5 separate regions of the Homo sapiens genome follow, and regions 1, 3, 4 and 5 are each linked to region 2. The links are contacts of gene promoters, found by promoter capture Hi-C in blood cells and fetal thymus (Javierre and others, 2016). All regions are on one chromosome and are shown on one strand. The core of a region is centred on a gene start or on the middle of the fragment in contact, and the rest is flanking DNA. Distances in the headings are between cores, read along the strand shown.

Evidence for each region. Contacts are between HindIII fragments. The CHiCAGO score rates a contact against its expected background, and 5 or more counts as called.
Region 1: a fragment that was not itself captured here is called in contact with the fragment with the promoter of IGSF22-AS1 in region 2 in 2 of 17 cell types (naive B cells and total B cells); the score reaches 7.6 in naive B cells.
Region 3: a fragment that was not itself captured here is called in contact with the fragment with the promoter of IGSF22-AS1 in region 2 in 1 of 17 cell types (total B cells); the score reaches 5.3 in total B cells.
Region 4: a contact is called between a fragment that was not itself captured here and the fragment with the promoter of IGSF22-AS1 in region 2, in 3 of 17 cell types (total B cells, naive B cells and non-activated CD4 T cells). The highest score is 9.0, in total B cells.
Region 5: a fragment that was not itself captured here is called in contact with the fragment with the promoter of IGSF22-AS1 in region 2 in 2 of 17 cell types (activated CD4 T cells and total B cells); the score reaches 6.7 in activated CD4 T cells.

Annotation. Positions count from the first base shown.
Region 1 is chr11:18,131,974-18,134,706 of GRCh38, forward strand. MRGPRX3 (MAS related GPR family member X3) reads left to right here and starts at 598. Exons shown (of 2, transcript NM_001370464.1): 1 at 598-766. The HindIII fragment of the contact is 791 bases long and covers 898-1,688 here.
Region 2 is chr11:18,705,032-18,707,731 of GRCh38, forward strand. It overlaps IGSF22-AS1 (IGSF22 antisense RNA 1), which reads left to right and starts at 1,450. Exons shown (of 3, transcript NR_186353.1): 1 at 1,450-2,118; 2 at 2,247-2,362. It overlaps IGSF22 (immunoglobulin superfamily member 22), which reads right to left. Exons shown (of 23, transcript NM_173588.4): 21 at 1,883-2,182; 22 at 786-1,115. The HindIII fragment of the contact is 1,081 bases long and covers 1,435-2,515 here.
Region 3 is chr11:18,062,848-18,065,677 of GRCh38, forward strand. No RefSeq gene overlaps it. Among named protein-coding and RNA genes, the nearest start is that of TPH1, 18 kb to the left of the region's middle. The HindIII fragment of the contact is 1,620 bases long and covers 493-2,112 here.
Region 4 is chr11:18,148,785-18,151,484 of GRCh38, forward strand. No RefSeq gene overlaps it. Among named protein-coding and RNA genes, the nearest start is that of MRGPRX3, 18 kb to the left of the region's middle. The HindIII fragment of the contact is 1,712 bases long and covers 568-2,279 here.
Region 5 is chr11:18,079,586-18,082,404 of GRCh38, forward strand. SAAL1 (serum amyloid A like 1) reads right to left here. Exons shown (of 12, transcript NM_138421.3): 11 at 1,826-1,918; 12 at 707-906. The coding sequence ends at 814. Among named protein-coding and RNA genes, the nearest start is that of SAAL1, 25 kb to the right of the region's middle. The HindIII fragment of the contact is 1,393 bases long and covers 571-1,963 here.

The sequences.
Region 1 (2,733 bases), core at 43-2,542, 570 kb before region 2:
GGGTGCACCAAAATCTCAGAAATTACCACTAAAGAACTTATCCATGGAAGCAAACACCACCTGTTCCCCAAAATCCCAATGAAATAAAAATAATAATAATAAATGATTTAATTTCACAGAATTTAAAAAAGTTCACTGTTCAGAGTTTATAATAATGAAGTAAGAATGAAAAGTGTAGCAAGTGGTAGCCTCTGGACAATGGGACTCTAGATTTTCACCTTGCATACACTTCTCTGGCATTTGGAAAGAAAGTATACACATGAATATATCACCACTATGATAAAGAAAACATCAAAAAATTGTGTCAGGCCATTGTCAGCCTTGAATGGTCCCATGATCTACTTTTTCATTTGGATATAAAGCCTCATAATGATAGTTCACATTGCTTAATGTGATGCCTAGGCCCATAATTGATTTTTAAAATCAGGACAGCAATTACTTACAGGAAGTTGAACAAGATGGGACGTGATAGGAGAGGCTTAAATGTACTGGATATGGGACAGAGGCCAAGAATCATCTCAGTTAGGATTTGTGTCTCAAATACCTCTGGCCTCTGATTTGCCCATAGTCCTCATACAGGAAATAACAAGACTGTCCAGCATCTTCGTAAGCCTGGATTGCTCACCAGCTTTCATTTCAGCTCCTGTAGGCATCTCCTGAATTAAGCAACACAGAAAAGTCCTCTGAAGTCACTGAATCCCATAAAGGCTCTCTACCTTTAGCACAAGGGAGGTCTTCACCACTGGACAAAGAAGGAACGATAAGGGTAAGTACCAAGAACTCTCTTCTTCCACAGTCAGTTATGATTTTTGCTGTAAGATCATGTCCTTATGCTTCCACCTTGGTGCTACATGCAGGGGGTCACGAGCTTGTTTCAGGAAAAGACAGGAGACATGAAGCTTCCTTTCAGAAACTGAGTGCTGTCAACCCAAACTGTGTGAGCTCTAAATGGTGTCCCCCCTTCTAATTTATCTCCCCATATCACCTCCTTCATTCCAATCATTCAATCTGCCCTCATGGAGAGACTGCTGCCTCTTACATTCATTTAACGAGCAAGGGGACATGCAGGCATTTCTTCCCAGAGTTGAACTGCTATAGAGCCAGTTTCTTTGTTTCACTTACTTTTCAAATTTATTCTTCTTTGCCTATCTGGAAAGGTCTAAGGAAGATATAGATGGCCCAATAATTAAGGAGTGTTTCATGAGGAAAGTATTTACAAAGATGCACAGAGTTAAGGGTCAGGATCCTAAGCAGCAATACATAGGGGAGCACTACTTCCTCCCCTAGGCTGAAACGGACAGGGAAGGAGCAGTTACCATTGTCACTATAGCCATAGCTGTAGCCATAAGGGTGGGAGAGCATGAGCAGGCAAGTGGAGAAGCCCTGCGTGGCCAACGCACAGCCACACAGGCTGATATAGTTTGGATCTGTGTTCCCACCAAAATCTCATGTTGATTGTAATTTCCAATGTTGGAGGAAGGGCCTTGTGGGAGATGATTATTAGATCACGGGGATGGTTTTGCATGAATGTTTTAACACCATCCCCCTTTGGTATTGTTGTTGTGATACTGACGAGTTCTCATGAAATCTAGTTGTTTAAAAGCGTGTAGCACCTCCTCCCTCTCTCTTACTCCTGCTCTCACCATGTGAGACGCCTCGCTCCCCCTTTGCCTTTCACCAGGATTGGAAGCTTCCTGAGGCCTCCCCAGAAGCAGAAGCTGCTATGCTTCTTGTACAGTCTGTAGAGCTATTAGCCAGTTAAACCCATTTCCTTCATAAATTTCCCAGTCTCAGGTATTTCTTTTTAGCAATTTGAGAATGAACTAATACACAGACAGAGAGCCAGGAGATGGAAATCCCAAGGTGCTTTCCTGCTGTCTTCCAGTCTCCTGCTGGTGTCTCCCAGTGTCTCAATTCCACCAGAAACCAGAAATAAAAAGAATCCCACTGATGTGGTACATAGAAGCCACTCTCTTGGGATGTCAAACAGGATAAAGAAGAATGGAAAGCAAATCCTCATGGTAAATGAGACTATCCCTCTCACCTTCTTGTATCCTCCTAATTCCTGGGGCTTTCTCTATCTGATTGATCCCTGTCTCATTTCAGCTCTATCAGACTACTTTAATGTTTGGCTTGTCTTTCTCTACTGTCACTTTTATGCAGAAATGTTTGCATTTGTTAAAAATGCATAGAAAATAAAATGTAATTTTAAAAAGAACATATGTATTTTGTTTAGAATATAAGTTTGGCTGATCTAATAAAGACATGAAGAAGAAATATCTTAAACAAGAAAGTATAGTTGTGCCTCTGGGTCACTAGGTTCTGAATCTACAGATTCAACAAACTACAGGAGGAAACTTTTCCAAAAATAAAGGTGTGGCGGAGTTGTGTATGTACTGAACAGGTACAAACTTGTATTTCTTTGTCATTATTTCTGAAAAACTACAATATAACAAGAACTTATATAGCATTTGCATTTTGTCAGTTATTCTAAATAACTTTAAATGATTTAATGTATCTGGGAGAAAGTGCATAGAGTATATACAAATACCACATATAAGGAAATTGAGCATCTGCAGATTTTGGTCTGTGCTGGGGTTCTGGAAAGAATCCCCTGTAAATACACAAAAATGACACTCTTCGAGATCTGAACTAGAAGCTCCAAAGCATCATACATCAGAATTCCAAAAATTGCTGCTCCCCAGTTCCTAGAGAGTTGCCCTCATCCTTGTG
Region 2 (2,700 bases), core at 200-2,699:
AAGGTCCTTTCCCCAAAGAAAGGTATCTATAACTGGATAAAAAAGGTCTGTAACCATGGAGACCACAGCAATGGAGTGTCATGGAAGGTTCAGGAGTAGCAGAAGGTGAGATGAGAGGTGGGGGAGGGGGAAACCTTCTTGGTTTGGGATTTTACCATGAGAGGAAAGCTGGGGGAAATTTAAGCAACAGAAAGCAAGGCAGGCCAGCTTTGCATTTAGAGTTCATGCTGCTAGCTGTGTGGCTATGAAGACAGTAGACTGGGAAGGAATAAAATGCTTCCCCCTATGTGTGCACACATGAGTAGAAACATGGCATGCATGTACAAAAGGGAGGGTTCCCTTCGCTCCTTCCCTTGTTTGTGCCCCCCACCGGTCCTTATCCTAGACCAGTTTTAATTTTTATTGCACATCAGAATCACCCGCAAAATTTTGTAAACATATAGGTTATTTCCAGAACCGTGCCAGAGAGATCGTGATTGGTGAGTCTGGTTGAGTCCTGATCACCAGTATCTTTTTTCTGAAGGCAGGTCTAGGCTCACCAAGAGTTGCAAACCACATCTTATCTAGGGATTGAGAACTCTCATGTCTGCAGGGGCCAGGCATATAACAAATGACATCGAAAGGATGGGAGAGTGGTAAGAACTGTGGCCAATTAAGAATGTTTGCACCACCTGTTGGCAGTCAGATTAAAAAACGGTGCCAGCCAAATAGTTGACCAATGGCCCACAAGACCAGCCTTTTGCGCCTCTCCCCCTCCTCGAGGCCGGACCCCGCGGCGCCCTCACCATAGACGGTGAGCGTGCAGCTGCTGCGGTCCTTGCCCAGCTCGTTCTCCACCAGCACGCTGTAATCGCCGCTGTCCTTGAGCGTGCAGGTGGGGATGACGAGGGTGCACACGCCGCTGGTGGAGTTGTACCAGAACTTGGAGTTGGCCGTGATGTTGACGTCGCCCTTGTAGAGGGTCACTGTGGGCCGCGGGTTCCCAAGGAAGGCGCAGGTCATGGTGCAGTCCTGGCCGCGGAGCACCGTGTGTGGCTTGAGGGGCGTCACGAAGCGCGGCGCGTGGCGCCAGTCCTTCTTCTCGTAGGGCTTGAGCTTGGCGCTCAGGTCCTGGACTGCGCGGGCGGGGCGGGGCAGGCCGTGAGGGCGCCCCAAGGCCCCCACCCACCACCCACGTCTTACAGTTCAGCTTACACGGAACCCCGAGGACCTAGGCCACATTCCCAGCGCCACCAACTCTGGGGGCCCAATGTTACACTGGTTCTTAAGGGCTCCCCACCCGCCCCCAGGCCTCCCCCGACCCCCCAGCCCCGTCCCCAGCCACTCCAGGGTTCTGCCACCCAAACCACGCTTTCCCACACCCCTGGGGCCGAGATGTCATTCCAGCGCCAGCTTCCTGGACCCGGTTATTCCCAGCCTTTAACTCCGCCTCCAAGCTTCCCCTACGTCATATCAGCGACCACAGTCTCCCCTCTTATCCCTTTAGCTCCTCAGTTCGAGTTTCCCGACGCGGCCCCCACCCTTAACCCCTAGCCTCCAGGGATCCCAGACATCCTCCCGGCTCCCTAGAGCCCTCCCCTGTTCTCAGCCCCGTTAGACCCTCCCCTCAGAGCAGAACGCGTTTGCGCTCTATGTCCCTCCGCAGCCCCTCCACCGTCCTCTCTGCCCCCAAAGGTACCTCCCCACCTCCACTTTAGTCTCACCCCTAAGTACCCCGAAGAAAGCCAATATTTCCTTCTCTCCGCAGCGTCCCAGATATTAACCGTTCTATCTCAATGGTTTTCAGATTTTATCTTGCCTCTTGGGTACCCTTTGGGACCCTTATGTCATCCCCACCATCAGGGCACCCAGACTTAACCCTAACTGCAAGTCCCAGACTCACTCTGGTCCTTATTGATGAGCCAGGTGTCCCTGGAGTCAAGTGGCTCACTGTCACCGATTTCATTCCGAGCCACCACTCTGAAGTAGTACTTCCTGCCTGGGAGCAGCCCCGTCACTGTGTACTTGTTGCTGAAGACACGCTCGGCTGCCGTGTACCAGGTGGCTGTGCTTGCATCCCGCTTCATGATGATGTAGTGAGCCTCACCGTCCTCCTGCACATCTGGGCTGTGGTTCCAGGTCAGAGTCACTGTGTTGGGGACTTCCTCAAACAACCGTAGGTTTGTGGGGGGCCGAGGGAAATCTGGAAGAGTTGGAAGATCTGTCAGCGACCTTGGGGCACCTGAAGTATTATGTCCCCACCCCAGCCATCTGCCAAGTCCGATGGAAGATAAGATGGGGCAAGTCTCAGGCAGCTGGTGTCTTGGAGTCGGAAAACTATTTCTGAAGTCTGCTCTGCCATTTACTAGCCTCGTGACCTGGGGTAAGTTACTTATCTGAGACTTCTTTCCTCAATTGCAAAATAGAGCTGACAATGACTATTTCGTAGAAATAGTGGGTAAAGAGACTGGCATGTAGTTACTGTTCAGTAAAAATGAATCCATTCCTTCCTTGGGGGTTTAGAGCTTTATTTTAAAGCTTCCAGCTCTCTTTAAGCAGTCACCCCAATTTTTAATGGATTCATCTCCATTTGTCCCTCCTGCCCCTCCACCCATTTCTACTCTCTCTGCCGACCATACTCTGTATGATAAAGTCTTGCTCTGTGGTGTCAAAGAAATCTTCATGGCCCTAAGGCATGACTTTCCTGTGGTAGGAACTCAA
Region 3 (2,830 bases), core at 53-2,552, 640 kb before region 2:
TGGACATCACAATGTGATTTATGTGTATGGTTAAGAAAGATTAGGGAAATTTTTCTTCAGGGAAAAATTAGGCCCAAGGTAAAAGTTGTGCTTACTATTCTTCAGCTATATATTGTGTGCATGCAGCAAACTAAAGGTTTTTCTGATATCAATCTCTAAAATTTATATAGTGCTTTACATTTTTCAAAGTACTTTTATTTATATTGTTTACTTTGGTCATTAAAGTAACTGAGACTCAGATGGTTCGGTGACTTATCTAAAGTTACACGGCTTGTAAATGGCATAACATGAACTAGAAACCACCTGTTCTGTCTCTCAGCTCTGTGTGGTTTTACTCATCATGCTACCTCTTCTAAGAGGAAACGTGATTTGAACTCCAGTGAATGAATATGTACATGTTTAGCTTAGATTTTATCATTTACTTGAAGGAGATCCCTGTAACAAGCGACAACCATTTTCCAGAAACCACAGTTGCCGTGGGAACGCTCCCTAAGCTTACTTCTGTCTATGGCATTGTAAATATTTGTTCCTTTGTTTCTCTCCTTGGCCATAAACTCTTTCAGGGCAGGAACTGTGCCTTTCACCTCTACGGCAGGATCCAGCACAGTGCCTATTACAGAGAAGGCTGTTAATAAGTAATTATCCAATACATGCTTGTTGAGAAGGAATATATGAATACAAAAATGAAGCTGGGCATGGTGGCGGGCACCTTTAGTCCCAGCTACTTGGAAGGATGAGGCACGAAAATCACTTAAGCCCACGAGGCGGACGTTGCAGTGAGTGGAGATCGTGCCACTGCACTCCAGCCTGGGCAACAGATTGAGACTCCGTCTCAAACACAAAAAGAAAAAAGCAAGTCTATGTGAGATGTGAGAGAAATGCAAGACATGATAATAAAAACAAAATGCTGTCTGTAATCCTTAATCATGAAGGTCAAAGCTCCATTTATGCCTCCACGCGTGTGAAACAGAGGCTGCTTCTTTAAGACCTCAGATGTTAGAAGCCATATGGCATTCTATCCATGTTCAAATTGAAATTAATTTGATGAAGCAAAGGGATGGAGGAGAGAGGTTAGGCCGGGACATAATCTCTTAAGTCCTCAAGATCCAGATCTACTAAATCTCCCTGCAAAAATCATAGTAATCTTCACAACATGACATCTTCAGTGAGCTCTCATATCAGATGACACCCAAATGGCTTTACGGGAAGAGTGGTGCACAAGTCTGTTTACACACAGCATTACACAAATTTCATTCCAAGTCCCCTTCAATTCTCATTACACTTTTTAAAATTACAATTGGAAACCCTGTTTATCACTTGAACTTCTCTGCTTCAACACATTGCCTCATGAAGTGTTGGCTTGTGGCCATTTCAAACACACTGAGCAAAATGGCCCAACAAGTATCGATCACGACAAAGCCTTTCATTTGCTGTGCATTACAGCTTGCCAAAAGTCACACAGTAAGTGGCAGAGGGGGAACAGAACCTAAGGCCTCACTTATCCTTGGAAACATTTTACCTCAATGTACCACAACATTTCAAAAAGTAGATTGAGGAACCCAAAGATATATTTCATTTTTCAGTTCCTTCAGGTTTTTAAGACTTCATTAAGTTTGGGTTCTGAATCATATAGAAACCTCCCAATCCTTTAGTGATAATTATGAAAGCACTCAATACCATCTGGAAGAGCCAAGACATTCTAAGACTAGGACTCGTGATTTACATTAAAGACAGCGTGAATGGTGCCCCCCGGAGTTGTACCATGCAGCATTCCTGCTCAAGTTAATAACGCAAACTGTGCAAAAATGCCATTAATATGGAAACACAGAATGGTCTGAATCATTAGGAAGTGCTGGCTACTCAGATTTTGGAGTGAGGAAAACTATCTTATAGCATGAGAATCAACTGTGCTTGGGGAAATTGGCCCCGTTACTTGGGCACACTTGATTTCCCTCAATGTCTGCTGTCTTAATGTTTGCTTTGTGTTGTTCAAAGAGGCATTATCGCCCTGCTCATACAGTGCCACTAGCCATTTCTCCAACAAGTTAAACAGCATTTGTTGAGGCTGCAGAAAGCAAAGCCAGTACCATTTGTCAAATTAATGACCTCTGAAGCTTTTATGAAAGGGTATGATAAGTCTACATCAGGGGAAATGAGCAAACGTGATGATTAACCTCCCTTCTTTGTTTCTCCAACTGAGCTTAAGGTACTGTGACCGAGCTTTCATGGAAATCAGGAAGATTCTGAGAGAATCCAAATGTGACCATCTGGGAGAGTTAAGAGAAGAAAATACACCATGTGGAGAGACAAGGACTGCCACTCCTGGAGTTCCAAATGGACAGAAGGAGAGAGCTTCCTCGCATCTTTGGGAAAATCCTATCTACATAGCATAAATGCCCCATACTCCACCCTGGAAGAGGCTAATCAGGGGCACCTCCTCATGGGTGCCAGATATTAGAAGATTTTACAGGCTCCATTGCGGCAGAAGGTAATCAAAAAGGCCCAAGCCCCACCCTACAGAGAGCAGCAGCATGACCTTAAACTGCCTTTGCTGGTCACTTGGAGAGGGAGGGTCCATTTTCCTCAGTGGGCAACAAAGCCGCTGATAATCAGGTGCACACATGACGTGGATGTAACCTGCTGAGGAAGTGTCTGATATACCAAAGGAGCCAGGACTCACAACAAGCCTGGCCAGGAAAAAGAAGCCTCAGAGAACCCCAGAGCAGCCTCTACTTTGTAGATGATATGAGTAAATACAACGCAGACAGCCACTTAGCAAGTTCAGAGCCACTTCCAAACGACGCTGAGGGCCTGGTGTCAGCTCCTGCAC
Region 4 (2,700 bases), core at 174-2,673, 560 kb before region 2:
AACCTAAGGCAAGCAATAAACACTATTTCCTCCCCTAGGCTTACAGGGACAGGAAAAGAGCAGTTACCATTAAAAGCATAGCTGTAGCTGTAACTGTAAAGGTGGGAGAGGATGAGGCAGGTGGAGAACCCTGCATCACCATCACACAGCATCACAGGCAGAGAGCCAGAAATCCCAAAATTGCTGTCCTCCTGCCCTCCAGTCTCCTGCTAGTGTCTCCTAGTTGCTCAGTTGAACCAGAAACCAGAAGGAAAAGAATCTCATTTATGAGGTACATAGAAGCCACCATCTTGGAACGCCAAATAGGGTAGAAAAGAAGGGACAAAAAATCCTTAGGGAAAATGAGACTATCTCTCTGACCTTCTTATATCCTCCTACTTTCTGGGGTTTTTCTCAATCTAAATGTCATTGAATCATGTATCATCACAGCTCCATCTATTTTTTTTTTTTCTGTTTCCACCTTCTCTCTCTAGTGTCAATTTTATGGACAAACACCCACATTAATTAAAAATGACTAATTGGAAGATAATTTTTAAGAGAAAATATATTTCTTTTAGTTTGAGTATAAGCTTAGTTGTTCTAATAAAGATATCTTTATTAAATCAAAATATCTTAAACAAGAAAGTACAGTGGATTCTCCATATCCATAGTTTCCACATCCAGGGATTCACCCAATAGCAAATCAAAAATGGTCAGAAAAGGAAAATAAAAAAGGATAGTGACATCTGTACTGAATAGGTACAGACATTTTTATCCTTTCTTCCCTAAAAAATATAACAACTATTTATACAGCATTTAGATGGTCTTAGGTATTATTAGTAAAGTAGAAATCATTTAAAGTATATAGGAGAATGTGGGTAGGTTATATATAAATGCTATGCCATTTTCTATAAGGAAACTGAACATCTGGAGATTGTGGTGCATGCAGGGGTCCAAGAATGAATTGCCTGTAATGCCCAGGAATGAATGTATCTTAGATATAAGTTGGAGGCTTCAAGGCATCATACATTAAGACTCCAAAAACTGCTGCTTCCCAGTCCATAGAGTGGAGTCCTCATTCTTTGTGGTCTTACTGGTTCCCACCCACATCAGCATTCTAGCCTGATGGAAAAAGAAAGAGGGAAAGGGGAGCCTGTACTTCTTCCATTGATCCCACGAGCCCGGACTTCCTTACATCACATCTGCTCACCTTCCACTGACAAGAACCTGGTCTTATGATGTCATCCAGCATCAAGGAAAACTGGGACATGTGTCCTTGTGCTGCTCTTAAATGCTCAGAATTGTTATGTCACTGAAGAGGAGAATGGAGATTGGGGCAACTTGGCAGTCTCTGAAACCCTTGATTATCTCTGAGATTTTTTGCTCACATCAAGGTTTTTCAGGAGCTCCTCAGAAATAATGAATGATGGGGCAGAGAACAGTACATAAGTCTCATACAGGGATGTTGACATGGGGCCTGCTCTTTGTGATATTGGAAAAACAAGTCTGACTCTTGTAGCCTCAACTCCTTCTTATGTCAAATGAGAATAGTACAATAGATAGTCTTTAAGGAACACATGCTGTATTAGTCTGTTCTCACACTGCTATAAATATACTACCTGAGACTGAGTAAGTTACAAAGAAGAGAGATTTAATTGACTCACAGTTCCACATGATTTGGGAGGTCTCAGGAAAATTACAGTCATGAAGGAAGGTGAAAGGGAAGCAAGTCATGCCTTACATGGCAGCAGGAGAGAGAAAGAGAGAGAGAGAGAGAATGGGAAAGTGCCAGACACTGAAACAACCAGAACTCGTAAGAACTCACTTGCTATCATGGGAACAGCAAGGGGGAAATCCTGCCCCATGATCCAATCATGTCCAACCAGCTCCCTCCCTCCACACATGAGGATTACAACTCAAGATGAGATTGGGTAGGGACACAGAGCCAAACCATATCACATGCTAAATGTTGGTGATACTACAGTGAACAAAAACAGGCATGGCTTACTCCCTATGGAGCTTCAGGTTTAATGAGGAAGACAAATGTTTCAAATGTTAAATACGGTATATCAAATATATACCCTAAATATAGATGCACAAACTGTTAAGTGCCCTGAGTGGGGATCACAGTTTTCCTTCCATTTCCCTTTCTGGCCCAAGGCTGTGGCAGCTTGTTTCTCTAAGACAGCTCAGGATGGATGCACTCACTTTTGATATCTCTCTGTACACCTGAGGAAGGATGCATTTTGTTTCCACTTGGATGCTTTCTACGCCTGTGGCTCCTCAGGATTCCAGAGGAAAGCTTGACTTCATGAGGAAGGAAAGGGTCTCTGATTTCCTTATTGTGCTCCTAATTGGTTTCCCTTCACTCTCATTTGTTAGATATTAGGTTGGTTTCTTATTGTCTCCAGAGTTTGCTTACGTTACTTTTTTCAGTCCACAGTTTTGACTACCATCTTGGATTTATATTGGGAATTACAATGTCCTCTGCTTTCCCACACAGTGATGTGTAAGCAACACACAGTGGTGCTGGATCCAAAGGGTTGGCAAAAAAGATAAACTCTGAGGCAGCCCTGCTGGGTTCTAATCCACATCGTGTGAGACTAAGAAATAATTACACATCCTTTATGTCTTCCTTTGTCATCTCCTGTAAAATGGGAATATTACTAATTCTTCTTACTTCCTAGGCTCTTGAAAAGATTAAGAGGGATAATACCTAAT
Region 5 (2,819 bases), core at 17-2,516, 630 kb before region 2:
CACAAGGCAATAAACATGAACGCAAAGGCCTACCTGGCAGACCACGTGAAGGGTGAAAGGAGCCACCTCATTACATCTGGATTTTTGCATAAGGTTCCTGAAAGAGATCAGATTCAGCTGCTACAGGAGGGTTTCTGTTACTGCAGCTGAATATACTTAACAGTGGATACAAAGACGTAATTCTCACTTAAAAAAATCAAATTAGGCTGGGCACGGTGGCTCACGCCTGTAATCCCAGCACTTTGGGAGGCCAAGGCGGGCAGATCACGAGGTCAGATCGAGACCATCCTGGCTAACACAGTGAAACCCTGTCTCTACTAAAAATACAAAAAATTAGCCAGGCGTGGTGGCGGGCACCTGTGGTCCCAGTTACTCGGGAGGCTGAGGCAGGAGAATGGCATAAACCCAGGAGGCGGAGCTTGCAGTGAGCTGAGATCGCACCACTGCACTTCAGCCTGGGCGACAGAGTGAGACTCTGTCTCAAAACAAACAAACAAACAAACAAAATTAACAGCTATGAAGAAAATCAACACTGATCTCGCACATATCCTAAAAAGAACCTCAATGATAAGCTTACATTTTTGCTTTCCTCAACTGAGGATGATAAATATCACATAAAAAGAGGGGTGACAGTGGTGAAACCTCAGATTCCAAAGTCAAAAAAAGTGAGACAAGTCTAGGACAGAAAAATGTTAACACCAGACAATTATGGTCTAATATGGGCTTTAGTTAATATTTCCAATAAGTCAATTTCAACTGTCAGTGAGAAAAATAAAGTTTATTTCTTGTACAGAAGTAATTCCAATTCAGGTTTTAAGTCTGAACCTTCAAACTTGGGAAGTTTTTTTCCAAGTCATCAGCAAGCGCCTTATCAACTTCACGTAGGATTTTAATAAAATCTTCCACCTGTGAGTCAAACAAACAAACAAAAATCAAACACAGAAGAGAAAAACGTGCTTTAAGGTACTGATTGCTCTACCTGTGGTTTCTAAATGGTCCAATGGAAAAGAAATGCTGGCAGATCTCCAGATGATAGTAACAGTACTTCCTAAGCAGTCTTCTAAATCATTCTCAAGGAAATGACTATGCTTTCCCATTCCGTTTTACTCTTGAGCTAGTACTTCTCCCCCCGCCTCTTCTTTACAGTCTGTTCCCACATTCTGTCCTTCATTTTCCTGAAAAAGTTCCTATTTTGAAATCTGATTCTAATGGTAGGAAATGTGATGTCATTTGAAGAACCATAAAAACCTACTGACTATTCCCAAGAATCTGATTTTGGCTTAATATAGATGTTATCTACTTCATAACAGAAAGGAGTACTATAAATTCAGAGCTTATTTTTTTCCTCTTAGAATTGTTACTCCCAATACTATTATGAATTTTCCAGTAGTCATCTTTTTTTCCCTCAACTTTTATTGTAGACTCAGGGGAGTCTAAATGTGCAGGTTTGTTATAAAGGTATATTACATGATGCCGAGGTTTGAGGCACAGATGAACCTGTTACCCAGGCAGTGAGCTTAGTACCCAATAGGTAGTTTTTCAGCCCTTGCCCTCCCTCTCTCCCTCCCCTCCTCCTGTGGTCCCCAGTGTCTACTGCTCCCATTTGTATGTCCATAGTATCCAATGGTTTAGCTCCTACTTCCAAGTGAGAACATACGGTATTTGGTTTTCTGTTTCCAGCAGTCATCTATCTGACAAAGGCATTAAGTCATATAAATTGTATATACTATCATTTTTGACAATGACCTCGAAATCAAGTGCTTACTTGAAAACATTTAGTAATCCTACAAAACTTGGCCACCTATATACATTTACCCATACTCACCACAGGGCTATAGAAAGGAAGAAGGTTTTGAAATGCAGAGGAACACTTCTGTTTGCTCAACTGGCCTTCCTTTACTCCCTGAGCCACCGTCTCCTAAAACAACAACAAGATTTAATGTCAAAAAAGGAAAATTTTTCAAGCTTTAACTAGTGAATAAAAACAAATCAGGATATTCAATTCCCTCCTGACTTCATAGGCATTTCAAATGTCCCACCTGAACCCACCAACATCAAGGAGGCTTATGTAACCCAAACATGTTCTCCACTGTCGTCTTTACTTTAGTGAAGGGCACCACCATCCACCCTGCTACACAGACTACAAACTTGGAACACAGCCAAGACTTTTCCTTCTCCCCTCCTGCTGACTCCTCCCGGCAAGTGCTCAATTCTATTCTACCAAATCTCTCTTACCCCCATCCCTCCTCTCCATTCAAACTTCCATTGTTTAGGCTGCCATCATTTTTCAGATTATTCTTGAAGATTACCAACCACAAGAGCCTGTTAGTTGATCTCCTGCCCTCCAGCCTCAACTCTCTCTACTCCTTCCTCTCTATTGCTTTTGGAGTAATCTTTCTAAACTGATCGTATCACTTGGTGCTTAAAAGTAAAAAATCTTTAGTAGTTCCTCAGCTTTTTCAAGATGAAGTCTAAATCCCCTAAATATGACATAAGAATTTGCATGACATAGCACTCGTGTATTCTCAGCCCACCTTTCTTTGATGTTCCCACCACTTAAAAGTTAAGAAATATCGATGTCCCTTGCTCCAAAAAACAGAAACAACAGCAAAGAATGGGAAAAAAATACATGCGATAAATATGGAAAAGATACATTATTACCCAAGAAATTCATACAAATAATCAAAATGGATAAATTATTAAAAGGTAGGAAACAAATTAACATACGACATCCAAATATTTCAATCTCATTAATTTAAAAATGCAAATCAAAGTAAGACACAATTTATTACCTGAACTTTGACATAAAAATTATAATA